Regions from separate parts of the Homo sapiens genome. Here all the other regions are linked to region 2. Evidence: promoter capture Hi-C in 16 types of primary human blood cells and fetal thymus (Javierre and others, 2016). All regions are on one chromosome and are shown on one strand. The core of a region is centred on a gene start or on the middle of the fragment in contact, and the rest is flanking DNA. Distances in the headings are between cores, read along the strand shown. Region 1 holds the start of EFNA4 (ephrin A4). Region 2 holds the start of HAX1 (HCLS1 associated protein X-1). Region 3 holds the start of S100A16 (S100 calcium binding protein A16). Region 4 holds the start of FLAD1 (flavin adenine dinucleotide synthetase 1). Region 5 holds the start of PYGO2 (pygopus family PHD finger 2). Region 6 holds the start of MTX1 (metaxin 1). Region 7 overlaps CHTOP (chromatin target of PRMT1).

Evidence for each region. Contacts are between HindIII fragments. The CHiCAGO score rates a contact against its expected background, and 5 or more counts as called.
Region 1: the fragment with the promoter of EFNA4 here is called in contact with the fragment with the promoter of HAX1 in region 2 in 2 of 17 cell types (neutrophils and non-activated CD4 T cells); the score reaches 9.1 in neutrophils.
Region 3: a contact is called between the fragment with the promoter of S100A16 here and the fragment with the promoter of HAX1 in region 2, in 6 of 17 cell types (naive B cells, total B cells, neutrophils and 3 more). The highest score is 16.9, in naive B cells.
Region 4: a contact is called between the fragment with the promoter of FLAD1 here and the fragment with the promoter of HAX1 in region 2, in 5 of 17 cell types (non-activated CD4 T cells, naive CD8 T cells, total CD4 T cells and 2 more). The highest score is 8.6, in non-activated CD4 T cells.
Region 5: a contact is called between the fragment with the promoter of PYGO2 here and the fragment with the promoter of HAX1 in region 2, in 5 of 17 cell types (neutrophils, non-activated CD4 T cells, activated CD4 T cells and 2 more). The highest score is 13.8, in neutrophils.
Region 6: the fragment with the promoter of MTX1 here is called in contact with the fragment with the promoter of HAX1 in region 2 in 2 of 17 cell types (activated CD4 T cells and non-activated CD4 T cells); the score reaches 7.1 in activated CD4 T cells.
Region 7: a fragment that was not itself captured here is called in contact with the fragment with the promoter of HAX1 in region 2 in 2 of 17 cell types (total B cells and neutrophils); the score reaches 7.0 in total B cells.

Annotation. Positions count from the first base shown.
Region 1 is chr1:155,062,490-155,065,877 of GRCh38, reverse strand. EFNA4 (ephrin A4) reads right to left here and starts at 2,138. Exons shown (of 4, transcript NM_005227.3): 1 at 1,942-2,138. The coding sequence starts at 2,054. It overlaps ADAM15 (ADAM metallopeptidase domain 15), which reads right to left. Exons shown (of 23, transcript NM_207197.3): 23 at 3,103-3,388. The coding sequence ends at 3,376. It overlaps EFNA4-EFNA3 (EFNA4-EFNA3 readthrough), which reads right to left and starts at 2,138. Exons shown (of 5, transcript NM_001407761.1): 1 at 1,942-2,138. The coding sequence starts at 2,054. It overlaps DCST1-AS1 (DCST1 antisense RNA 1), which reads left to right and starts at 1,887. Exons shown (of 4, transcript NR_040773.1): 1 at 1,887-2,121. It also overlaps ADAM15-EFNA4. RefSeq lists an enhancer at 686-1,187 and silencers at 1,678-1,827, 2,118-2,267, 2,648-2,737. The HindIII fragment of the contact is 1,420 bases long and covers 870-2,289 here.
Region 2 is chr1:154,270,629-154,274,098 of GRCh38, reverse strand. HAX1 (HCLS1 associated protein X-1) reads right to left here and starts at 1,470. Exons shown (of 7, transcript NM_006118.4): 1 at 1,323-1,470; 2 at 501-763; 3 at 138-325. The coding sequence starts at 1,375. It overlaps UBAP2L (ubiquitin associated protein 2 like), which reads right to left. Exons shown (of 27, transcript NM_014847.4): 27 at 3,252-3,470. RefSeq lists an enhancer at 1,407-1,576 and a silencer at 1,714-1,854. The HindIII fragment of the contact is 9,202 bases long and covers 1-3,470 here.
Region 3 is chr1:153,611,809-153,614,941 of GRCh38, reverse strand. S100A16 (S100 calcium binding protein A16) reads left to right here and starts at 1,805. Exons shown (of 3, transcript NM_080388.3): 1 at 1,805-1,990. It overlaps S100A14 (S100 calcium binding protein A14), which reads left to right. Exons shown (of 4, transcript NM_020672.3): 4 at 1-687. The coding sequence ends at 57. The HindIII fragment of the contact is 6,157 bases long and covers 1-2,282 here.
Region 4 is chr1:154,981,194-154,984,693 of GRCh38, reverse strand. It overlaps FLAD1 (flavin adenine dinucleotide synthetase 1), which reads right to left and starts at 1,350. Exons shown (of 7, transcript NM_025207.5): 1 at 628-1,350. The coding sequence starts at 999. RefSeq lists a silencer at 1,438-1,617 and enhancers at 1,500-2,097, 2,698-3,295. The HindIII fragment of the contact is 2,398 bases long and covers 1,267-3,500 here.
Region 5 is chr1:154,959,942-154,963,330 of GRCh38, reverse strand. It overlaps PYGO2 (pygopus family PHD finger 2), which reads left to right and starts at 1,549. Exons shown (of 3, transcript NM_138300.4): 1 at 1,549-1,857; 2 at 2,305-2,354. The coding sequence starts at 1,755. It overlaps SHC1 (SHC adaptor protein 1), which reads left to right. Exons shown (of 12, transcript NM_001130040.2): 12 at 1-1,033. PYGO2-AS1 (PYGO2 and SHC1 antisense RNA 1) reads right to left here and starts at 1,793. Exons shown (of 1, transcript NR_171036.1): 1 at 708-1,793. RefSeq lists enhancers at 462-1,201, 1,202-1,942 and silencers at 1,084-1,493, 1,544-2,003. The HindIII fragment of the contact is 6,114 bases long and covers 1-3,389 here.
Region 6 is chr1:155,206,954-155,210,265 of GRCh38, reverse strand. It overlaps MTX1 (metaxin 1), which reads right to left and starts at 1,571. Exons shown (of 8, transcript NM_002455.5): 1 at 934-1,571. The coding sequence starts at 1,461. It overlaps THBS3 (thrombospondin 3), which reads left to right and starts at 2,369. Exons shown (of 23, transcript NM_007112.5): 1 at 2,369-2,468. The coding sequence starts at 2,390. RefSeq lists a silencer at 1,022-1,221 and an enhancer at 2,585-3,312. The HindIII fragment of the contact is 1,632 bases long and covers 203-1,834 here.
Region 7 is chr1:153,642,757-153,646,241 of GRCh38, reverse strand. CHTOP (chromatin target of PRMT1) reads right to left here. Exons shown (of 6, transcript NM_015607.4): 5 at 2,878-3,015; 6 at 1-1,178. The coding sequence ends at 973. Among named protein-coding and RNA genes, the nearest start is that of CHTOP, 10 kb to the right of the region's middle. The HindIII fragment of the contact is 7,820 bases long and covers 1-3,485 here.

The sequences.
Region 1 (3,388 bases), core at 889-3,388, 790 kb before region 2:
ACCTGTAGTCCCAGCTACTTGGGAGGTTGAGGCAGGAGAATGGCGTGAACCCGGGAGGCGGAGCTTGCAGTGAGCCGAGATTGCGCCACTGCACTCCAGCCTGGGAGACAGAGCGAGACTCCATCTCAAAAAATAAATAAATAAATAAATAAATAAATAAATAAATAAATAAATAAAGGCCATGAGTGGTGGTGCACTCCTGTAGTCCCAGCTACTTGGGAGGCTGAGGCGGGAGGATCCTTAGAGTCCGCAAGTTCCTGTAGTGAGCTATTATGCCACCGCACTACAGCCTGGGTGACAGAGCAAGACCCTGTCTCTAAATTCTAAAAATTAAAAAAAAAAAAAAAAAAAGAATGAGGGAGTGGGTGCTAGGTGCCTCCCTTTTTTGGCCAGGAGGAGCAAGTGCCAGGCATGGGGGGAGTCCACATACTACCCAGTCTTCAGTCTTCTCAGGACTCCCTTCCCCACCTCTTGGGAGCTGCCTGGGGAAGCCAGCACAGGTGGGAAGGGCTGGAAGGGGCTGCTCCCCACAGTACTGAATGCTGCATGAACCACCCCCCATACCACAAACACAGCGAAGCATGACTTAGGAAAAGCCTCCAGTGGGTGGTCCAAGGACGACCTGTATCAGTTCTGATTAGAAATGAAGATTCCTGGGCTCAGCCAGCCCAGACTTACTAGAACGCAAGCTGAGCAAGGACAGGGCCTTGGTAAGTTTTGTTCTACTGCATCCCCCGTGCCTGGAAAAGTGCCCAGCACAGGACAGTGTTCAATAAATATTTGTGGATTGAATGAATGAGCCAGAAACCTTAAGATTGGGGGGTGAGAAACCTGAATTTTTAACAGGTCCTCCAAGTGATTCAGAAGCTTTGGTCTGTGACAGAGATAGAGAATTCAGAGTCCAAGGACAACAAAAGCTCTTATCACTTGTTATTGGTATTGTAATGACCTGTCTTTATGCAGGCTCTCCTGCCTGCGCCTGTTCTCCAGAGAGTCTGTGGAATCCCAGAGGGCAGGGTCTTGATCTTCTCATCTATATAGTTAATCCCCTGCAACCTAGCACAGGGCCGGGCACACACAGTATGTGTTTAATAAATAAATGTTAGTGAGTGAAGAAATGAATAGTCACAGATTGTCTCAAGTAGAAAATCAGAAAGAAAAACAGATAGGAAATAGGAGAGGCAGGGAGACTTGGGGAGGGGGATGGAAACAGTAAAATATACTAAGGTTCAAAGGCAGGCAGCTCAGGAGAGAGAAAGAAATAATAGTTTATATCTGTACAGCCTGAGCCTCTTTCACATACATGACCTCACTTACCCTGCCAGACTTCCCAGGGTACTAGGTATTATTAGCCCATTATACAGGTGAGATAAATGAGGTTAGGAAGGTCACGAGACTTGCCCAGAGGTGATTCGGCTAGAAGGGCAGGGCTGACACTGGAAAGAAACAGAAGGACCAATAAAGACAGAGATGAAAGCAGAGATAGCAAATGAGATCAGGAGACAGAGTGAGAGCCAGAGGTGAGACCCAGCGGGCAGGAGAGTAACCCACGCTCTTTCATAAGAGTAAAGCCCCCTCCCTCGCTCTCAAGTTCGTCAGCCACAGCTCCAGCCTGCGGGAGGCTGGGGATCGCCAGGAGAGCAGCGAGGGGGGCGGAGCCCGGAGTGCGGGCAAAGGCCCCCCCAGCTCCATGCTCCAAGACCCCCTAGACAACCCTTGGGGCTGGGGTCTTCTGCCTGCCCCCCAACACATGCGGGCTGTGGGGAGACCCAGGGCGCGCCTCGCCCCTCGCCCCTCCCCCCTCCCCCGCCGGCTCAAACAAAGGAGCCCCGGCGCGCGGCCAGGCTCAGGCGGCGCCGCGCAAAGAGCGGGTGGCGGGCGCGCGCAAAGCCCGGGAGCGCGCAGACTTGGCTGTGCGCTCGCCCGGTTCGGCCCGGCTACCTGGGGTTACTGGAGTTCCAGTAGACTACGTGGCGGAGGCTGGAGCCCCCGCGCAGAGGGGAGCCGAGGAACGCGGCCCAGAGGACAGTCCGCAGCAGGGGCAGCAGCCGCATCGCCCCCGAGGTCCGGTTTGGTCTGGCCTGGCAGGTCCCGGCCCGCTTCACAGTCGAGGAGAGAAAGGTACAAAGTGAAGAGGGAAGTTGCGGAAAGGGGAGTGGGGTACGGAGATTCACTGACCCCGCCCCTGAATAACTTTCCGCCAATGGGAGCGCGTCTCCTCCTCTCCACCCAGCGCCAACTCCAGTTAACCCTCTGTGCACCGCAGCGCGCGCCAGGTTCGCCAAAGCTTCCACTGAGGCTGCACCGCACTGCGAGGGGGCGGGAAGGAAGGACGTATTCCAACAGCAGTATTTTTAGGGAGGTCATCTCTTTCGTGTCTGCTTTAGTGCAGGGTAGACTGCCTTATTAGAAGTTTGGAAGATTTTAAATAAGGGTACATAACCTTTGCCCAGATAGGGGAAAGTGAGGCGCGGGCGAGGATCCATGAAGCCTGTCCAACCACCTTCATGCACTGCCCCGTTTTCTTTGCACATCTAGGGACAGTGCAAGCGGAAGGGACAACACAGCTCTGGGACCACCTTCCCTAAAGAGCCTTAGGTGGCGCGCTAGATGCTCACTTTAGGATTGGCGTCTGTCCCTTGCCGCTCCACACCTTCGTTCCGGGCTGGGGGCCCACGCGGCCCCAGTCCCTAAGACGAAGTAATGAGGTGGTTGCGGCCTGTACAAAGCACCTTTGTTCCCGATCCCTCAGGTGGCGGCGGCGGAGGGGGAGGAGGCAGGTGCGCGGCCTTGGGATCGTGGGAGCAGCCGCCGCCCCGCTCCGCCCTGGCTCCTGGGCTCTGGGAGCATCAGCCAGATCCACTTTTCCCAGCCAATGGTCAGAGTGGGGACGGCAGGTCCAACAGCTTGACAGATTGCGCCGAAAGCCACCCCAGTCTGGGCAGAGGGAAGCTGCGAGCATCCCGGGGACACACGCCGACCCTTTCTGGTACTCCCGCCCCACACAGCCCGCCCTCGTCTGAGGCGGCAGCGTCTTCTGGCGGCCAAACCTGGAACCGCAGCAGGAGCGACCCGGGTTCTAGAAGCAGACAAACTCTGGGGAACGCTCCCAAGATGTCACGTTTATTGCAACTGAGCAGAGACAGGCTGTGCGGACCTTCCTCAATCCCGTCCAACCCCCAGCCCCTCCCCAAGCCCCCGCTGCAACTACGCCGGCAGGTCCGCAGAGTGTTGCTTGACAGCGCGTGGCGGTGCCCGGAGTCTTAAGACACCGCCAGTCTCTGGCGCCTTCAGTCATGGTAGGGGACTCCAGAGGGCACGCCCGCCTCTTGAAGCCCTAAGTCCGGCTTGGAGGCAGCGGAACCTCCGGAGAGGTCAGAGGTAGAGC
Region 2 (3,470 bases), core at 221-2,720:
TGACCTCTGGTGATCTGCCCACCTCGGCCTCCCAAAGTGCTGGGATTACAGGCGTGAGCCACCGCACCTAGCCAGTCTTTGCACTTTATTAGTGGTCTCTCACAAGCTCTCACTTCAGGACCAGATGGGATACTCACCCTATGAAATGGCCTCTGGGAGCCCCAGTCTGGTGCTGGTTGGGGGGATTCACTTCTTGCATCACTCTCCAAGACCCCCCCAAAGATCCTGGGCTGGTGACTATCTGGATACTTAAGCATTGAGTCCCGAAGTGTCTGTCCCTCCCGTAGTCTCTCACCAGGTGTCTCTGACTCAGGACCTGGAAGTTCTGCAGAAAGGTGGCAGGTGTTTGCTGGGATGGGAAAGGACTTGGGCTCTATTAATCTCTCTGAAATCATCAGTCTTCTCACACTTCCCATCCCCCAGCTACTCCCTGCAGGCTCTTTATTTCACCCACCAACCCACCAGAAACCACAGGTTGCCCCTTAGGGAAAGCCACACACCAGGAGGATGGGAAGGCAAGGTCCAGGCCCCCATATCGCTGAAGATGCTATTGAAATCTCGTACTAGGTCATCAAAGCCGAAGTTATCGTGGAAACGTATCCCTCCTCCTGGGCTGAAGCTGAAGCCGAAGCCAAATTCCTCAGGGGGGTGCTGAGGACTATGGAACCTTGGGTTCCCACGGCCCCATGAGCCCCCTTCTTCTTCTTCTTCCTCATCATCATCTTCATCTCGAGTCATCCCTCCAAAAAAGGGATCTCTGTGGCTGAGAGTGGAGGCAGATTGGCCACCAATATTTCAGCACTATTTAAGCCATTAAATCAACTCATGGGTGGCAAAGTGGGACAAGAGCAAGGGGTCTGGGAAGCTAGGGAGAGGGTCGGAGGACTGGCTGCCACATCAAAACATTAATACAATGGCTGACAGTTCTTTTTTTTTTTTTTTTTTTTTAATCAAAGTCAGACCTCAGCTCGCAGCTCCCTTCATACACCTTCCCCCAGTTTTTCTTCAGTGTGCCCCAGTCCCTCCTCTCTCTCCCAAGGTCCTGCTCACTTGCTCACTGTCTTATTCCCCAGACCCTCACGGTCTTCCCCGCCCGGGTCCCTGTTGCATCACCCCAGGTTGGAGAAAGGCTTAGTTTGCTGTTTCTCCTCTTAATGACCGCCTTGGTTACTGTGGCGGGGTGAGTGTTCAATGTTGCGACTTCTGTCCTCTCTGCAGGAGTTGAAGGAGTGGGACAGAGGATGTTTTTCCAAAAATAAGACGTAGGGGTCAAGCTCCCCTCAGACGACCCCCACCCTTGTCCGAGCCGGACCTACTCTCACCTCCGAGGTCCAGGAAAGCCGAAAAAGCCCCGGAAGAGATCAAAGAGGCTCATTCCCGTACTGGGACGCGAACCTTTGAACCCCTCCAGTGGTCCATTCGCAGACGGGGGAAACCTGCGCAGCCCTGTGAGAAATTGAGCGAGGCGTCAGCCCACGCTACCGGAAAGCAAGCCCGCGATCCTGACACTGTCGTAAACGACGGTAAGCCGGACGTGAAATGGAGGCGGGACCGAAGGTCTTCCTCAAATTTGAAAGGCTTTATCTTTACCCCACCTTTCAGAGACCAGTTTCCGTGACGGGAGTGGGCGTGACGCACTTTCAGTTTCCTATGACCGCCTTCCTCCTAAATCTGTTCTTCTTTCTGCAGACCAACTCAGTACGAAAAGCGATTTCGAGGGTTTGACTCTGGATGGCACCCGGATAAAGCCGCCAGAGGGCAGCCCAGCCGCACAAATGGACCGGCTTGAGGGCGTCCCTCAACCACCCCACCCGCGGGGCTGGCCAGCCTCACAGCAGAAGCCACCTCGCTCCTTACTCGGGCGTTCTTTTTGACTGACCTGGGCGATGTCTGCTGTTAGAGGGATGAACAAAATGCTTTTCCAAGCTCCTTCTAGTATTGAATTTCCCAGAGAAGAGATCAAGACATAAGAGACGCATGGACTTAACTTCCTCCACCTCTCTAGCTACTAGGGAGTTTGTTATAACTATATAGAATTCTTTTTTCTAAGCAGGCTCTGCAACCAGCAAGACAAAGGATTTTTAAGAAAGCAAGGGAAGGGAAGCTAGTTGAGTCCTGAGAAGGAACAAATTGGGGGTTATAAAGAAATATCCCTTTGGTATCTTTTTTTTTTTTTTTTTTTTTTTTTTTTTGAGACAGAGTTTTCTCTCATGTTTCCCAGGCTGGAGTGCAGTGGCACCATGTCGGCTCACTGCAACCTTCGCCTCCCAGGTTCTCTCCTGTCTCAGCCTCCCGAGTAGCTGGGATTACAGTCATGCGCCTCCACGCCCGGCTACTTTTGTATTTTTTGTAGAAACGGGGTTTCACCATGTTGACCAGGCTGGTCTCGAACTCCTGACCTAAGGTGATCCGCCCAACCCAGCCTCCCAAAGCGCCTGTCCTCATTCCTTTTTAAAAGTGTTTTGTTCAAAACCTCTCCGAGACCTGTCTCTCCCTGTACCCCATCCCCAAGCCAGACCTTGCTCTAGATTCTTTTTCAAAGAATTGGGTATAGCTATGTCACAGAGAAGCATCCAAGAAGCCACTACTACAGTAGTCCATTCCTAGGGGGAATGGGCCCCAAGGTTTTGTTTTTTTATTTCGTTTTTGGGGTACAGGTGGTGTTTGGTTACATGGATGAGTTCTTTAGTGATTTCTGCGACTTTAGCGCACCCATCACCCGAGCAGTGTACACTGTACCCAATATGTAGTCTTTCATCCCTCACCCCACTCCAAGATTTAGTTCTGCCAGACGATACATGTTGCCTTCACTTCTTTTTAGTTTATTTGCCTGGACCCATCTAAGTCATACTTAAAACTCTATAAAGCATTTTTTTTCTTTGAAATGGTCTCAGCTCCTTCTTGATCCTCTCCATTTTCCACCCAATCTCCTCTATCCCTCTCCCTTTACTGCCTGAAATCGGCTGTAGATGTAGCAGTTTCTGGAGGAAATGAAGATTTGTGGTGGTTCTTTCCAGTCACCAGGTTGTGAAAGTCTTAGGGGTGAGGGGAAGGAAATCCCCTCAAGGACAAGATACTACTACCACATTAAGGTCAGGAGTTCTTAAAGGGCGAAGATTTCATTTTATTCCACTGCCTTCAGGGGCCTGCTAGAGGAGGCCCAGTTGGTACAGTAATACTTATTCACCAAGCTGGTCATCGACGAAATTGAGGATGTCCTAGACGGAGCAAGAATAGGCAGAGGCTGAAGGTAGAGGTTTTCTTTTTATATATACAAGACACATTAATCCATTAAATTTGAGGACACAGTACAAAAAAAAAAAAAAAACAAAAAAAAAACCACTTCAACTAATTCATCTGACAATGCTGTTCATATTCATGACGCCATTTTTTTGTTTGTTGTTGTTGTTGTTTTCCTAATAATAAAGAAGGAGACTTAGGGCTGTTGGGCTGATATATGTTTGGGGGTC
Region 3 (3,133 bases), core at 556-3,055, 660 kb after region 2:
CTGATTGGAGAAGCGGCCAAGAGTGTGAAGCTGGAGAGGCCTGTCCGGGGGCACTGAGAACTCCCTCTGGAATTCTTGGGGGGTGTTGGGGAGAGACTGTGGGCCTGGAGATAAAACTTGTCTCCTCTACCACCACCCTGTACCCTAGCCTGCACCTGTCCTCATCTCTGCAAAGTTCAGCTTCCTTCCCCAGGTCTCTGTGCACTCTGTCTTGGATGCTCTGGGGAGCTCATGGGTGGAGGAGTCTCCACCAGAGGGAGGCTCAGGGGACTGGTTGGGCCAGGGATGAATATTTGAGGGATAAAAATTGTGTAAGAGCCAAAGAATTGGTAGTAGGGGGAGAACAGAGAGGAGCTGGGCTATGGGAAATGATTTGAATAATGGAGCTGGGAATATGGCTGGATATCTGGTACTAAAAAAGGGTCTTTAAGAACCTACTTCCTAATCTCTTCCCCAATCCAAACCATAGCTGTCTGTCCAGTGCTCTCTTCCTGCCTCCAGCTCTGCCCCAGGCTCCTCCTAGACTCTGTCCCTGGGCTAGGGCAGGGGAGGAGGGAGAGCAGGGTTGGGGGAGAGGCTGAGGAGAGTGTGACATGTGGGGAGAGGACCAGCTGGGTGCTTGGGCATTGACAGAATGATGGTTGTTTTGTATCATTTGATTAATAAAAAAAAATGAAAAAAGTGAAACATGTTGTCTTGACTGGACACCCCCTCCCTGAGGGTCCACGGGTGAGAGGAGCTTGGGGGTGAAAGGCAAAGTCATTGGTAGGGTGGGGCACGTGGGGCTGGAGTGGTTGGCTGTGGAAGTGAATGGGGACTCACTTTTCCCTATGGGTTTGGGTTGAGGGTGGTACCAGGTCCAAAAGGGCAACATGGTCCTCTCTGAGGGACAGGCTCCTCTTTGCCAATGGGCGGGCCCTCTTATAGGAGAGGAGGGTATGTGTGCACACTTGGGGAAAAGGATATTAGTCCAGGTGTTCTGAGCCCTGGCTGGCACAACCAGGGAAATGGGGTGGGTGGGGGTGGGGGGCGGTTAGAAACAGGCTGACTGGCCTGAGTTTGAATCTCAGATCTGCCACTTATCATTGGAATTTTGGGCATGCTCTTAGTATCAGTTTCCTCATCTGTAAAATGGGGGATATGAATATTACTTCCACAGGATTGCCAGGAGGACAATGCCACACATCATGTAAAGCACTTACAGAGAGCCTGACACATGGTGAGTGCCCAGTGACCCAATATCATTCCCGCTGGAGTGGGCAAGTGGGCCCCTCTTTGGTTTCAGCTGCTGCCCTAGTGTAGGGAGGTCGAGCTGGCCAGTTTCCTTGGGTATCTTAGGGAAACGGTGGGGTGTGGGGAGTTTCCAGAGGAGTCTTCTGGTGTACATGAGGGATCTTAGGGCTGGGTCTCAGTAGAGCTGATGGGTCAGACTAGAGACAGAAGACCAGGGAGCCAGACAGGTCCCTGGCATCTGCCTTCTGATTTGAGCACAGAAGTCGGGCGTTACTCCTGAAACCCCAGTGGCAAGGAGGTTTCTGTGGCCAGTTAGGCTGGCCTGGAATGTTAACTGAACTTGTCTGTTGGGAGCCCCTGAAACTGGGATCCCAGTGACCCAGGTGAGAAAGGCAGGTGATAGTCCTTCCCTTCCTTTCTCTACCCTGTCAGGTTCTGCTCAGCCCCTGCGGGGCTGGGAGGGTGGGGTTGGGGGAGTGCCAGTTTTCACCACTCCCTCTGGGATGGGGGTAGAGGGGTGTGAAAAAAGGTGTGTATCCCTTTAACAAGGGCCCAACCCCAGGGCCAAGTCAAGAAGGAGCTCAGCCACTATCTCCCCACCGAGCCAGCTCAGCGGGCAGGGCTGGGAGGGAGTGGGACAGATTCTGGGAGTGCAGCGGGGAGGAGTCCCGGCTGGGCTGAGCGCAGGGAGCTGCTTGGCAGTGCCAGAGCCCAGGCCCCAGAGCCCTGCTGGAGAGGAGGCAGACTGAGGCAGCAGGTGAGCACCCTGGGCCCGGCCTGGGAGGTCTTCGGCTGCCGGAGGGCCCCACAGTATTGGGAGGCCAGGAGAAGGGGCAGTGAAGGGGGCCTGGGGAGAGGGGCCTGCCAGAGAGCAGGCAGGAAGATTTTGGTAATTATTAACTTTCTCCCACAGGCCAGTTTAGGAATGGGGAGTCCTGGGGGGTTGGGGGCTGGGTGAGGCCTTTAGAGGGATGGATGGGATGGTGAGACCCCCTCCCTGCCGCAGCAGCTGACGGAGCTCCTCTCCAGGGGCAGAGTATTTGGAAGCTTTGACCACAGCTACTCGATCCTCCCCAAAAGGAGAGGACAAATGCGTGTTGGTCTGGGTTGGGGGTGGTCAGAGCTTGGACACAGGCCTTGCTGGGCTCTGGGAGCTGTGTCCTAGGGGAGGTGATGGGGTCCAGAAGGAACCAGGCAGTTTCCAGGGAGCCTGAGATTCCGAGAAGAGGAGGCGGGGGCTGAGGTGGCGTCCCCTCTACCTCACGACCCAAGCAGACCCCACTGTGTTCCAGGAGCTGTTCCTTGAGAGGGATGATGAGATCTGGGAGGAACCCGAGTGAGGCTGTGGGGAGCCTGCAAGCTCCCTGGGAGAGGGAAAGATAGAGAGAGGGGGGCTGAACCTCGGCAGCTCCTCCACCTCAGGACCCAGGCAGGCCCCGGCTTGAGCTGCTTTTCTTGGCAGAGCCACCTGCACTATGGGAGCCTTCCCCTGCCCAGCCCAGTGGGGATGGTGGTGAGGGCAGGGGTGCTGGGGAGCTGGCTCTGCCTTTCCCCACATTCTAGTAAGTGTTGTTGAGGCTGGGGTAGCTGTGTGTGTGTTGGGGGAGGCGGGGGCAAGATCCACACTGAACTCCTCCAACTTCACTTGCCTGGAAAAATTTCAGAGGCTGGCTTCTTGCTCCAAGAACTGAAGTGAGTGGAAGGGTGATGGGTCACCCAAGCAGAGGGGATCAGGAATGGCCGAGGTCCTTGCTCGGTGTGTGTGTGTGTGTGTGTGTGTGTGTGTGTGTGAGAGAGAGACAAAGAGAGTTAGACGCAGAATCCTGTGAGGATGGTAAGGGGTGAGGCAGGGCCAAGCAGGCCCCACTATGCTCCGGGAGCTGTTCCTGGAGAGGGCCTT
Region 4 (3,500 bases), core at 101-2,600, 710 kb before region 2:
TCTTGTTGCCCAGGCTGGAGTGCAATGGCACGATCTCAGCTCACTGCAACCTCCGCCTCCCACGTTCAAGCAATTCTCCTGCCTCAGCCTGCCAAGTAGCTGGGATTACAGGCATGCACCACCACGCCTGGCTAATTTTGTATTTTTAGTAGAGATGGGGTTTCTCCATGTTGAGGCTGGTCTCGAACTCCTGAACTCGTGATCCACCCGCCTCGGCCTCCCAAAGTGCTGGGATTACATGCGTGAGCCACCGCACCCGGCCAAAACTCTTAAATATACAATACACACACCTGTACCTCCTCTACTCGAGGGGCTTCCTGTCATTGTTGTGTAGCTCCTCTGCCCTCTACCATACTGCTTGGTAAATTGCAATGACCTTTTTATTTTTCTTTTTTTCAATCAGCTCTCTCAGGTTGAAAAATTGTAGGGACTTTGCTACAAGTTTTTCAGTAGAGTAATTGAAAGAATGAGGGTTAATTTTCCTCCAATATGCTGGATTCACTCCAGGATCCTACTGCAGCAAAGAGGCTCCCACCCTGTTTCACCTCCTTCCATGGAGGGATGTGCAGCAGGCCCTTAAGGACAGGAGAACGCAGCGCCCTCCCCCCTTTTCTGTCCCAGACACACCTTAAGGATCTCATCTCCAACAATGATGATGCCAGCCGTCACGCTGCGCCCCGGAGAAAGTTCAGAGGCCCTAGATGTCATGGTCCTGCCTTCTCTGCCCCTCTGCAAGGCCCTCCAGTAGCCACCCAGACCCCCAAATAGGGGTCGCAAGCACGGGGGGCCTGCCAGGTCTACAGGGCACTGGGGGCCATAGCCTGGGAACAGGGGGTCCTGGGTCGAGGGAACCTGGAGAAGCCAGAAAAGACAATGGGGGAGAGCAGGCGTGCGCGTGCTTCCTTCGAGGAAGACCCTAGTCTTCTCTAACCAGATCCTTGACAAGCGACTCCTTTGTTCCTGCCTCTGGAATAAACGTGTTCCCAAATCCCAACCCATGTCCTTTTAAATGTCTTGCTTAGCTCTAGTCTTAAAAACTTCTTCTCTCTTGAGAACCTACCACTTTAAGTGTCTTCCGTTTGCTGAGCTGGTCTCCTCAAGTGTCTGCTCTACCTTGGGCATCCGTACCCCTTTAAATGTCTACCTTATCCTGGGCCTTGGCCCTTTTCAATGCATTCGCTCTCCACCCCGGACCAAAATCCCGTCTCTTTCTACTTCAGGCTTCTGCACCCTTTCTAGCCCAGAATCCCTTCTTCCCACCAAGCTTCAGATTACTGAGCCCTCTTAGACTCTCACCTGCCTGTTCTGCCCCTTCACCGGCTCTTTCCCTTGTTCCTTTCCTCATGTCCCGGGGCAGCTTCCGTACTTAAAGTCCCGCCTTGCACCTAGCTGACATTGAATGGTGATTTTGGCTGTCGCTTAGACTCTTCCAGGGTCCCATTGGTGTATTCAACTGTCGCTCTCAGGCTTTAGCCAGTGGATGGGAGCAGGGCCGGATTGTTATAGGCGACAACCACGTGGTCACTTCTCGCCCGGAAATACGGGGGCCGGACCTTAGCCCACGGTCGGGGGCGGGACCTCGGGAGTTTAGGGCGGGAAAGGAGCCGTAGTTAAAGGTGCTGTAAGGCCCTCGGGGAGTTTCTGGTGCTGGATTCAAATAATTGTTATGCATGTGTTGCTTTGTTTTGTTTTGTTTAATGGGTCAGTTAGCCATGGTTTAAGCTGTTTTCATTCACCGTGACTCTAACACTAGGCTAAGGGCTTTTACTGGAGTGAGAAAGCATCTTATTTATAGCAGAAGGAAGTTGGAGGGACACCGAGAAAGATTATTACCACTGTCTGTCGGATATGAAGACCCTGGAGTAGGTGAGCTTTTGATGTGTGGAACCTTAATTTATCTCTAGTATAGTAGACAAAACGAATTACTTAAATCTCTTTGACAAGAAAGAGTCCAAAAACCCTCTCTTCCTCCACCTTGCTCCAGATGGTGCTTAGTTCAAATGACCTTTCCCAGTAATTGGTCTTGTAGGTGCAAATGAGGCAGCGAATAGGGAGTGCCTTACATGTTTACTCTGGATCCTCACATCATCCGAGCTTACCCCCATTTCAGTTGCCTTTGTTCTAAAAGTACATCTTAAACTTTTTTCCAACAATAATCTGGGGATCTTTTCATATGCAGATTGATTCAGTAGGTTTGGGTGGGGCCTGAGATCTGCATTTAGCTAGTTCCCATGTGATGGTGATCCCACTGCTCTATGGACTACATTTTGAATGGTAAGGGCCCGAATTCATTCTTTGTTTTTTTGAGACGGAGTCTCCCTCTGTCACCCAGGCTGGAGTGCAGTGGCGCGATCTCGGCTCACTGCAAGCTCCGCCTCCCGGGTTCACGCCATTCTCCTGCCTCAGCCTCCCGAGTAGCTGGGACTACAGGCGCCCGCCACCATGCCCGGCTTTTTTTTAAAAATTTTTTTATTTTCATTTTTTTTTTAGTAGAGACGGGGTTTCACTGTGTTAGCCAGCATGGTCTCGATCTCCTGACCTCGTGATCCGCCCGCCTCGGCCTCCCAAAGTGCTGTGATTACAGGCGTGAGCCACCGCGCCGGGCCGAATTCATTCTTTGTAGGACTGGTAAACCACACCTTGCCAAATTTTACTCTTCAAAACCCTTGGTCGGGCGCAGCACTTTGGGAGTCTGAGGAGGGAGGATTGCTTGAGTTCTCTCAATTGAAAAAAAGAAAAAAAGGCCGGGCGCGGTGACTCACGCCTGTAATCCCAGCACTTTGGGAGGCCGAGGCGGGCGGATCACCTGAGGTCAGGAGCTGGAGACCAGCCTGATCAACATGGAGAAACCCCGTCTCTACTAAAAACACAAAAAATTAGCCGGGCGTGGTGGCGGGAGCCTGTAGTCCCAGCTACTCAGGAGGCTGAGGCAGGAGAATGGCGTGAACCCGGGAGGCGCAGCTTGCAGTGAGCCGAGATTGTGTCACTGCACTCCAGCCTGGGCGACAGAACGAGGCTCCATCAAAAAGAAAAAAAATACCCTGTAAGATACACATCATGCTCATTTTACAGATGAGGAACAGGCTCAGAAAGGTGAAGGGATGCCACACAACCACAAAACACAGTGAATGGTGGACCCAGGTGATCAGGTGTCTAGACCATTCTTTTAAGTAATAAGCCCCCCCTCCCTTTTTTTTTTTTGAACCAGGGTCTCTCTGTTGCCCAGGCTCGAGTGCAGTGGCGCAAGCACCGTTCACTGCAGCCTCGACCTCCTGGGCTCAAGTGATCCTCCCATCTCAGACTCCAGAGTAACTGGGACCACAGGGGCGCCCCACCATGCCTGGCTAATTTTTGTATTTTTAGTAGAGACGGAGTTTGGTCATGTTGCGCAGGCTGGTCTTGAACTCCTGGGCTCAAGTGATTCCCTGCCTTGGCCTCCCAAAGTATTGGGATTACAGGTGTGAGCCCCCGTACTTGGCCCTCATTTCTTTCAATTATAA
Region 5 (3,389 bases), core at 300-2,799, 690 kb before region 2:
CAGTTCTTGGACCCCTGAATTCAATGACAGGGATGCCAACACCTTCTTGGCTTCTGGGACCTGTGTTCTTGCTGAGCACCCTCTCCGGTTTGGGTTGGGATAACAGAGGCAGGAGTGGCAGCTGTCCCCTCTCCCTGGGGATATGCAACCCTTAGAGATTGCCCCAGAGCCCCACTCCCGGCCAGGCGGGAGATGGACCCCTCCCTTGCTCAGTGCCTCCTGGCCGGGGCCCCTCACCCCAAGGGGTCTGTATATACATTTCATAAGGCCTGCCCTCCCATGTTGCATGCCTATGTACTCTACGCCAAAGTGCAGCCCTTCCTCCTGAAGCCTCTGCCCTGCCTCCCTTTCTGGGAGGGCGGGGTGGGGGTGACTGAATTTGGGCCTCTTGTACAGTTAACTCTCCCAGGTGGATTTTGTGGAGGTGAGAAAAGGGGCATTGAGACTATAAAGCAGTAGACAATCCCCACATACCATCTGTAGAGTTGGAACTGCATTCTTTTAAAGTTTTATATGCATATATTTTAGGGCTGTAGACTTACTTTCCTATTTTCTTTTCCATTGCTTATTCTTGAGCACAAAATGATAATCAATTATTACATTTATACATCACCTTTTTGACTTTTCCAAGCCCTTTTACAGCTCTTGGCATTTTCCTCGCCTAGGCCTGTGAGGTAACTGGGATCGCACCTTTTATACCAGAGACCTGAGGCAGATGAAATTTATTTCCATCTAGGACTAGAAAAACTTGGGTCTCTTACCGCGAGACTGAGAGGCAGAAGTCAGCCCGAATGCCTGTCAGTTTCATGGAGGGGAAACGCAAAACCTGCAGTTCCTGAGTACCTTCTACAGGCCCGGCCCAGCCTAGGCCCGGGGTGGCCACACCACAGCAAGCCGGCCCCCCCTCTTTTGGCCTTGTGGATAAGGGAGAGTTGACCGTTTTCATCCTGGCCTCCTTTTGCTGTTTGGATGTTTCCACGGGTCTCACTTATACCAAAGGGAAAACTCTTCATTAAAGTCCGTATTTCTTCTACCTCTGCCTCTTAACCCTTCTGGGAAGCCTATTGTGTACGCCGCGGGCCCTCAGCGGCAGACGGGGAGGCGGGAGGTCGCGGCCGCCCAGGGAAGCTGGGGGTCTGCAGAGTTTGGGTGCGGCAGAGTGGGGCGTTTCGCGCCACCGTCCCCATGGGGATGTCGTGTCCGCAGAGGGGGCTGGCTCCGGGTGGGTCGAGGCGGGAGCCGGGCCTGCCCGGCGCCCCAGCACCGGCCCCCGGGCTACCTGGGCCTCCCGGGTGCGCCTTCGGCTCGCGCGCGCCCCTCCGCGGCGGCTCCACCGCCCGGGATGGTACGGTCCGGCAGCCGGGCCGCGCGCTGCCGCCCCTCGGTGAGCTGGTGTGGGCCGCCGCTAGCGGAGACGACCCTTTCCACTCGCGTGGTGCCGTGGTAAGCCTCGTCCCTCGCCCGCCGCCTGTTTTCAGGCGTAGCGTCTCGTCCGGTCCTTGCTCCCCCTCCCCGCAGCGCTCAGTGGTGGTGGCCGCGACGAGTTCCGGTTCCGGTTGCTGCCGCCGCTGGCGGGCGGCGAGTCTGGAGAGAGCGCGCAGTTTGCGCGGCGGCTCGGCGCTTCCCTGTCGTCGCACTTTGTGGTTGCTGCAGCTCGGGGGCCTGGGCTGCCCCTGACACCCCTTCTGGGCGATGGTGCAGCCCAAGGGCGCCTCCATCCCCCGCCGCTGCCGCTAACCCGGGTCCCCCACTCCATGGCCGCCTCGGCGCCGCCCCCACCGGACAAGCTGGAGGGAGGTGGCGGCCCCGCACCGCCCCCTGCGCCGCCCAGCACCGGGAGGAAGCAGGGCAAGGCCGGTGAGCGCGCTGCGAGGGGCGGGGGCTGAAGAGGCCCAGGACTTGGGAACCTCAGAGGGGAGGGATGGTGGGCGGGGGGTGTTTCACAGTCTGAAGGCTTGAAGGGAGGCTCAGGTGAAAAGGATGGGTGGGTGTAATCCTCCAGGGGTTGGGGGCAGGTGTCACACATTGAGGACTCTAGGGTTTGGAGCCACATGGAATTCAGTACTCACTTGGAGCTTGAGGATATCGAAAGATGGGATATCTTTCATTTAAAGGAAGACGTAGCTGAGAGTATGATCATCTTCACAATCTATTTTTCATATTGCACCCCTTGTTAGCATTTGTTGAATAAATAAGCAAGTATGTATTGACGTTAAAGGAGTTCCTCAGAGCATGGCTGAGAGAAAAGAGGTTGGGGAAACCTCAGGGAAACTTGTCTGCGTCTTCCTTTTGCCGCTCTTCCAGGTCTGCAAATGAAGAGTCCAGAAAAGAAGCGAAGGAAGTCAAATACTCAGGTGAATGGTGGTTGGTGGTGGGTTTGGTTCCCAGCAGCCCCTTGGCGGCACACTGTCTACTCTGCCATTCCAGTATCTGTTTGTATCTTGTATCAGCTGCAGGGAGGAGAGAGAAAACTGTCTTTCTTGCTTTGCTTCTTGTTCTTTCGCTGAACCTTATAACAAGTTTAGGGGAAAGTATCCTCTCCTAAGAGATGATTCGACCAAAGTTCTTACCACGCAGGGTTCCAGTCTCCTCCATGTTTCCTGTCCTGGTTTCCTCCTGATGATAACGTAACACCTACCACTTACTGATCCTTTTTTTAGTGCCAGGGATTGCGCTAACATGCTTTAACAGTTTGGGGAGATAGGCATTATCCCTATTTTACAGATGAGAAATCTGGGGGTTAAAAATGTTAAATACATGCTCCACAGTCTTGAGGTTGTTTTTCAGGGTCAGAGCTGGGATTCCATCCTAGTTCTGCCTGTTTTTAAAACATAGTTACTGCACTATGTTGGTTCCACTCTCCACCCTCTTTTTCTTGTCTTTTTTTTTTTCTTTTTTCTTTTCTTTTCTTTTCTTTTTTTTTTTTTGTAGTAACAGAGACTTGCTGTGTTACTACTCAAACTCATGGGCTCAAGGGATCCTCCTGCCTCGGCTTCCCAAAATGTTAGCATTACAGGTGTGACCCACTGTGCCTGGCCTGTGGTCCATTTTTTTTTTTTTTTTTTTGAGACGGAGTCTTGCTCTGTTGCCCAGGCTGGAGTGCAGTGGTATGGTCTTGGCTCACTGCAAGCTCCGCCTCCTGGGTTCACGCCATTCTCCTGCTTCAGCCTCCCGAGTAGCTGGGACTACAGGCGCCCACCACCACGCCCGGCTAATTTTTTTGTATTTTTAGTAGAGACGGGGTTTCACCGTGTTAGCCAGGATGATCTCGATCTCCTGACCTCGTGATCTGCCCGCCTTGGCCTCCCAAAGTGCTGGGATTACAGGCGTGAGCCACCGCACCTGGCCTGTGGTCCATATTGATTTTAGACCTGAGCTGCCCACAGTAT
Region 6 (3,312 bases), core at 322-2,821, 940 kb before region 2:
AATACCTTATGTGCCATTCCCTATACTTAGTATCTTAGTCTCGAAAAAAAAGGGGGAGTCACTACCATTTCTATTTTACAAATGGACAACACAGGGCTCAGAGAGATTCCGGACATGTCTGTGATTACAGGACAGCCAGGAAAATCCTTTCCTCTATCTCCTCTCTTGCCATCTACCTGGTGAACATCTATCCTCAGAAGCTTTTCCTAACCAGTATCCCTCTTCTTGGAAGCACTGATAATGCCCTTCTCTTTGGCAGTATCTGTGGTCTGTTCCTACTTTAACTTATATGTGAATATTTTATTATATTTATTTGCTTACCTATCTGCCTTTCTGTAAACTCGAAGGGAGGAACCAAATTTTATTCATCTTTGCCTGGCAATGTTTAATATTTGGAAGAAATCTAATAGATCCTCTTTAAAGCAAGGAGTCAATGAATAAATGAAGCAAAGGAAGTCTGATTGCTAAGCTCTTTATACAAAGCCTGGCTGTGAGTCGTTTGGTCTAACAAACAATAGCCTCAGTAAATGCTGTTAAGTGAGGAGGAAGAGGAGAAGGGGGCTGAGGAGAAGGCAGGAATTCCAAGCTAGAGTAGGTCCCTGAGACAGTCCAGCCTAGTAAACCTCCGAATGGAGAAAAAAAATGCCCAAAGAGAAAGGATCTCCGCAAGGTCACACAGCCAGTGAATGGATGAGCAAGGACTAGAACCCATCACCTGAACTCCCAACCAGGCGTCTTTTCATTGCTGCATTAAGCCTAGAAAACTACAGCATAGGGCACTGAGGCCATATCGGCCACGTACGCTCTTTGACTGCCTCAGTTTCCCCCACTGCGCCCGTGCTGAGTAGCCCTGGCAAGGTTTGGATGCTTGGCTAGTTCGGCCCCCTCCCCAGTCATCAGGGCACAGCAGAGGGCGCCGGCGCCACCCCTCACCAGCACGGCCAGGCTGTCCAGGTCCACTGACGGCAGCCCCCAGCCCCCTGACCAGCAGAACAGCTCCATGGGCGCCGCCATCTTGCCCACCCTCTGTCCCGGAAACACTTCCTTGTGTGCTTCTGCCCTCCCCTGCCTGGGCCCGCCCCCCGCCACCGCCCCTCCGATCGTTGCGGTCAGGGGGCCTGGGGAGATCCCCGGGGAGGCGAGGCTTCTTCTGGCCCGACTGGCAGCTGAACTGCGGGGGACTGGGCCGCGGGCCTCGGGGGAGGGCGGCCGCCGGCCCATCCAGAGGTGGCCCACGTAGCGGGACAGCGCTGTCGGCCCGGCGCGCCTCGGAGAGTCACGGCGCCTCGTCCAAGTGGAGCCCCGAACCCCTGAAGGCGCGGCAGGCTCTGGAGAGCGGGGTCTTGTGCGCCTGGGCCAGGTCTGGGGGCTCTTGCCAAACTGCACGTGGCCTGTACTGCTCCAGGGCCCCTTGGGGCTCGTCCCCGAGCGGGGACTGCGGGGGGGTCCCCCGAGCAGCATGTTTTCCACAGCGCGTTATGTTTGGAGCGGGCCCTGCGCCGCCTGTCGCCATGGAAACAAAACAGGGGCGGTGGCGGCGGCCGGAGCGGAGGCCGGGCTGGGGCTTGGGTGGGGGAGGGGAAGAGAGGCTCGCAGGCTGTCGCTTAGGTGACGGGAACTCAGGCGCCCCTCTGCTTCATCCGGGTCACGGCCCGTCCGCTAGTACCCACAGTGTTCCACAGTCTGGTCCTTGGCTCCTCGCCTGTACCCCTGGTCTTCTGCGCCTGTCCCTGGTGTCCCTTTCCTCTTTTTTGGTTTCTTCACTCTGACCTCACTGACCACTGCTTTAGATTCTCCCTTCAGTTCCCGTCAGACGCTTCCAGACTCCCAAGCTTTCCTACGAATGAGGGAAAATGGAGAAACAGGCACTTGTCAGGGGACCCCCCACCCTAATAAAGAGCACTTGCTCCGCCAGAACAGCAAAATTCATGCCATGTGGGCATCCCTGGGCACTATAGCAAGCTAGTTGCGGCCACTCCCTTGGCATCCTTTCCTGCCAGCTGTGGAATAATGCCCACTGTCTAGCACTGCCCCTGCCAGGGGTTCTTGCCTTCCACAATCGTGGCTTCCAGAAAACAGTGGCATTCGGTAGCGCTGTGTGCCGAGACCCCCAACAATGATGACTGCGGAGAGGGAGGCACCTGGGGGAGGATCATTAGGGAGAGGTAGAAAGCAGGGAGGCCTCCAGGATTCTTTCCCAGTGCCCCTGGTTCCCAGAGCTGATGATGCCTCCAGGGTGATTGGCAGCTCTTTGTTTCAGCCCCCCCTCACCCGCCTGCTGGCCCCCCCTCCAATTCTGTCCCTCCGCCCCCCGGCTCCTGCTCTCTCCGCCTAGCCTTTTCCCCTCCCAGCTGCCTGCCTGCCAGGGGTAGTGAGCCGGCTGAGAGGCATGGAGACGCAGGAACTTCGGGGGGCCCTGGCTCTTCTCCTCCTTTGCTTTTTCACATCTGCCAGTCAGGATCTGCAGGGTAAGCCTGTCTCCATCCTCTTAGACCGCTCTCTGCTTCTTCCCCATTTGCCCTCAGCCCAAGTAGCAGAGAACATGTGGGCAAGGGGAGAGGGGAAGAGTCCAGAAATTGAGCCAGAGGAAAACTTAAGACTGCCTAGAGTTGGTGAAATTATGGCCTGGTGGAGAGGAGTGGGCACCGGAGAGTAGTGGGGGAGCTGGAACAGGACAGGGTCAGGCATGAGGCCAGGGCAGAGGACTCAGGAACTGGATGCTCAGGCTGCCTGGCTGGGGTGGTTCCTGAGCATCTGTAGGCACCCTAGGGTCTGGGAGAGCAGCCTGAAGGTGGGCGTACTGTAGGTCCCTGGGCTTCGTCCCCCTGGGCTCCTGGCTGCCCAAGGACAGGGCGGGGGTGGGGACCAAGAAGCCTGGGCTCTCCCGGAGGTCTGGTGGTGGGATGGGCCGATGGATGTGGGAGAGGTAGCTGGAGCAGATGACACAGGCATAGATTCTTTACTGGCTGGAGGGAAAACCACAGATTGGCCAGGACACAGGAGGCAGAGGAGCTGGGTCCTACATTCCCGTGGGAGATAGCCCAGATGGTGGGAGGGTTAGAGTCCTCAGTGGGCAGCTGTTCTTATCCAGAGCGAGTGTGCTGCGCCCCTAGGATGGGAGGAGGGGAACTAGGGTGTGGAACGAGCCAAACCCAGGAGTGGAAAGAGAAGCTGCCTTCCATTTCTACGTTGTGGACACCAGGTGCCACTCCTGTGGGGGATCAGCACAGCATCTCCTTTGCGCCACCTGGTGGGGGCATCTCAAATTTGTGGGGTGCTGTTTCTGTGTTTCCAAGTGAGTCTCAAACCTGC
Region 7 (3,485 bases), core at 118-2,617, 630 kb after region 2:
TGACAGAATATGGTTGAACTTAAACCTTCAAGGGAAACAAGGGCAAAACAAAGCTAATGAGTGGAAAAGTCCAAGATTAGTTTGGGATAAACATGAGGATATAATTGCATTTTAGCATGGCTATCTTCTGACCTCTTCCAGCAGTTCGTCTGCCATCATTCTCCCTTCTGACACACCTACCAAATCAAATGGCTTCTGATCCTCTATATTGCAGTATAAACCAACCCTATAGTACCCCTCTGGTCATGATACAAACCCAGAAGGAAAGTCTGTAAATCTCATACAAAGGTAGAAAGTGCAATTCAACCCAACACGCTGGTTATGGTATATGTGCTGTCAATGTACATGGTAGCAACTTGAATCAAACCAGAGCTGCTACCACATGTAAGCAACCTCTTATGCTGCCCTGTAGTGATGTCAATGTTCTCAGTTTACTAAATTATCAATGTGGAAGAACGCATTTTTGAGCTCCAGACCTTCTAAACATTTTAAACAGGCTATCGAAGAGGATGTAACAGAACCCTATTTCAGAAACCTAAGGATCAGGGAGGAAGGAACACTGACCGGTTTTTCTGGGATGTTTCTGTGGGGGCAACAGGGATGAACAAAAGAAATGTTAGCATGTCAGAGCATATGACAAGTGAGGGGAGACAGAGGTAGGAAGAGGGTGTTCTAGCCACAAGGCTAATGCATTTGTGTTCAAAGAGAAGTCTGGGCAAAGGAGGGGAAACCCCCCCTCCCCCCTAAAAAAACAAAAACAAAAAACCAAATCAAAGGACAAAAGGGTTTCATACAACACAGTATCAAAAAGTAAAAGGAACACACTAAATGCACAAGCTGGTGGCAAGTAAGTCCACAGCCTATTGTGATAGGTCCATCCAGCATCAATCAGATTTCTTCTCATCTGTTATCTCAAGGTTATTTACAGATGTGTTGACTAACAAGAGTCTCTCATGGGAGGATGGGCAGGCTTCAATCATTGGTTTCGGGATCTGTCTGCGCCATGTAGGCATCCAACTCAGCATCCAGGTGTCCTTTTGTTTTCGACATATATGCATCCAATTGGTTGTCCAGCTGCTCCTTGGTCAATACAGGGCGAGCAAGGGCACCTCTCCCTCGTCCACGGCCTCGGCCTCGGCCTCCAAAGCCCCCTCTTCCCCGACCTATCATACCCCGACCTGGCCCAAAGGGGAAAAAAAAAAAAAAAGAGACAGTTACAAGTAAGTTTAATAGGTGCTGTAGTAAATGCCCCTTAGAGCAGTGGGGCCTAGCTGAGAAAAGCTGAAGGGCAGGGCAAAGAGGAGAAATCTGGAAAAAAAGGAAACACAATGGGTAGAAAGCAACACATGGAAAGCACACATAATGAATCCTCTATCACATGATCATCTCTAAATGCTATTTTAACAAATTTTATTCTATCAATAAAGGAAAATAATTAACTGGCAACTATAATTTTAAAAAACCTTAATCAATCCTAAGATAAAATTACCTAACATTTGAGATTCACTAAGTTCATAATTAAAATACATGACAGATAACCCCATTTGGTAAGATAGGGAGGTGGTAACAAGAGCACAGAGCATCAGGGGTGTGAAGACAAGACAGTTTTCAAATTAAGTTTATTGGAGACCCTTCTGGAAAGTCATCTCACCTGTCCTTAAACTTATCAAGTCTAATGAGCTAGCTGACCTCATGTGTCAGGAGACTGAGTTTTTCTGACACAGGAACAATGTAGGGGAGATTTGAAAAAATATTTTGAGTTGTCCTAGCTATTTCTACCTTTAATTCTAGTTACCTTATGACAACTGACAATTGTGGTTATCTGAGAAGCAGTGTGAATTCAGTTAACAAAACAAACTCAGCTTTTTGAAAAGCTATTTTAGTCTCTCCCACCCTCGTGATGTCTCTCAGGATCCAAGTCAAGATAATTTGGAAACATGTTATTTCATCCTGAAACCCAAACTAGCTTGCACTTCACTCAGTAAGTATCATATAATGGGAGAGAAGAAAACAAGCCCTTGGTTATCAACTTTTCTTTCCTAACAGTTATTATTCCTTGGCAACTTCAAGGTCATAAGTTATGGAAGACCCAAGACACCTTTTAAGAGAACCAAAGCAAATATACACAGGGGCTTCAATAGTGTTTTTTTTCTGGACAGGTGTTGGGAGTTTTCCACTAAGCTCTAAACCAGAAGGCTCCCATGAGATTTAGTATTAACAGCAGCAACATCATTAAACTCTTTCCCAATCTGGGTCATGAGGTCACAAGACAAACATCAATAAATTTCAAAGGCAAGATTATCAATAAGAGCCAGTTAGTTAACTGATAATAATTCCATCTTGCTCTCTACCTTAAGCAAAAAAAGTCATCTCTGGTTCTCCACAGGCACCAAATGTGACATTGAATTTATTTGGTTTCAGAGCCAATGCCCAGCTCCAAGTCTCACCACCCTCTTAACTCTACTTCATCTTTGTATCTCTCTCTCTCTTCTATATTCTCATGTGACTCAAACCAGGATTTGGAGCTACAGGGTGGTATGTGGTGGTGATGGTGGTGGGACAGGGGCAGAGAAAGGCAAAACCCTAAACTGACCATTTTGGGGGGTATTTTCAACTATACAATTTAAATTTGCAAGAGCTTGGAGGAAGATGGCATATAATCTGGCTCTATAATATGCACTTGATTGATTCTTGGAAAAATCATGAGACTTTTGCACTACCAGCATGGTAATTTGAAAAATAAGCCAGTTTCAAATAACAAAACAAGACAAACAAAGAAGCCTGCCTATGACTTGAAGCTGTGCAGAAAGGTGGCTCTGAGTTTTTAAGGGAGGAAAGTAAGGGGGAGCTACTCTCTGAAGTTGGTAGCTGACTAACCTCTACCACCGATTCCGCCACGACCCATAGCTCCACGCCCTAGGCCCCCTCTCCCAGGACCTCCACGACCTCGAACACCACCTCTTCTTAAGCCCATTCGGGGAGCTACGGCTCGTCCACCTCGGAGCAGGTTTTGACCTTAGAGAGGAGGCATACAATGTATATGCAGGTAAATCCAAGAGACACAAAGTAGATTCTAACCAAAGGAAGGCGGTGAGGGTTAAATGAAGGTAATTCAGTTAGTTTTTAGGTTGGCTGGGGCAAGCTGCATACTGTGAACAGATTAAGCTACTCTTTATTCAATCAATTCAACAAGTCTGACCACAAATCCATTTTTGGAAGTTGGGAGTTAATTCAATTAGTAAGTACATACATTTAATAAATATCTACTGAATAATCAGATAGATGCCTAGCATTATGGTAAATTTAAAAATAAATGCTATGGTTCCTGATCTCAACAGATTCTTCTAGGGAACAAGAACTATACAGGGAACAGAGTAATAGTGCCCCAAATGAACATATATAGGTAAGTGCTGTGGGTCAACTTGTCCTCTTTTTCCAGCTGTATCAGTGTTTTACTAGCACCAGGAACAAAGAGATATAGGCCA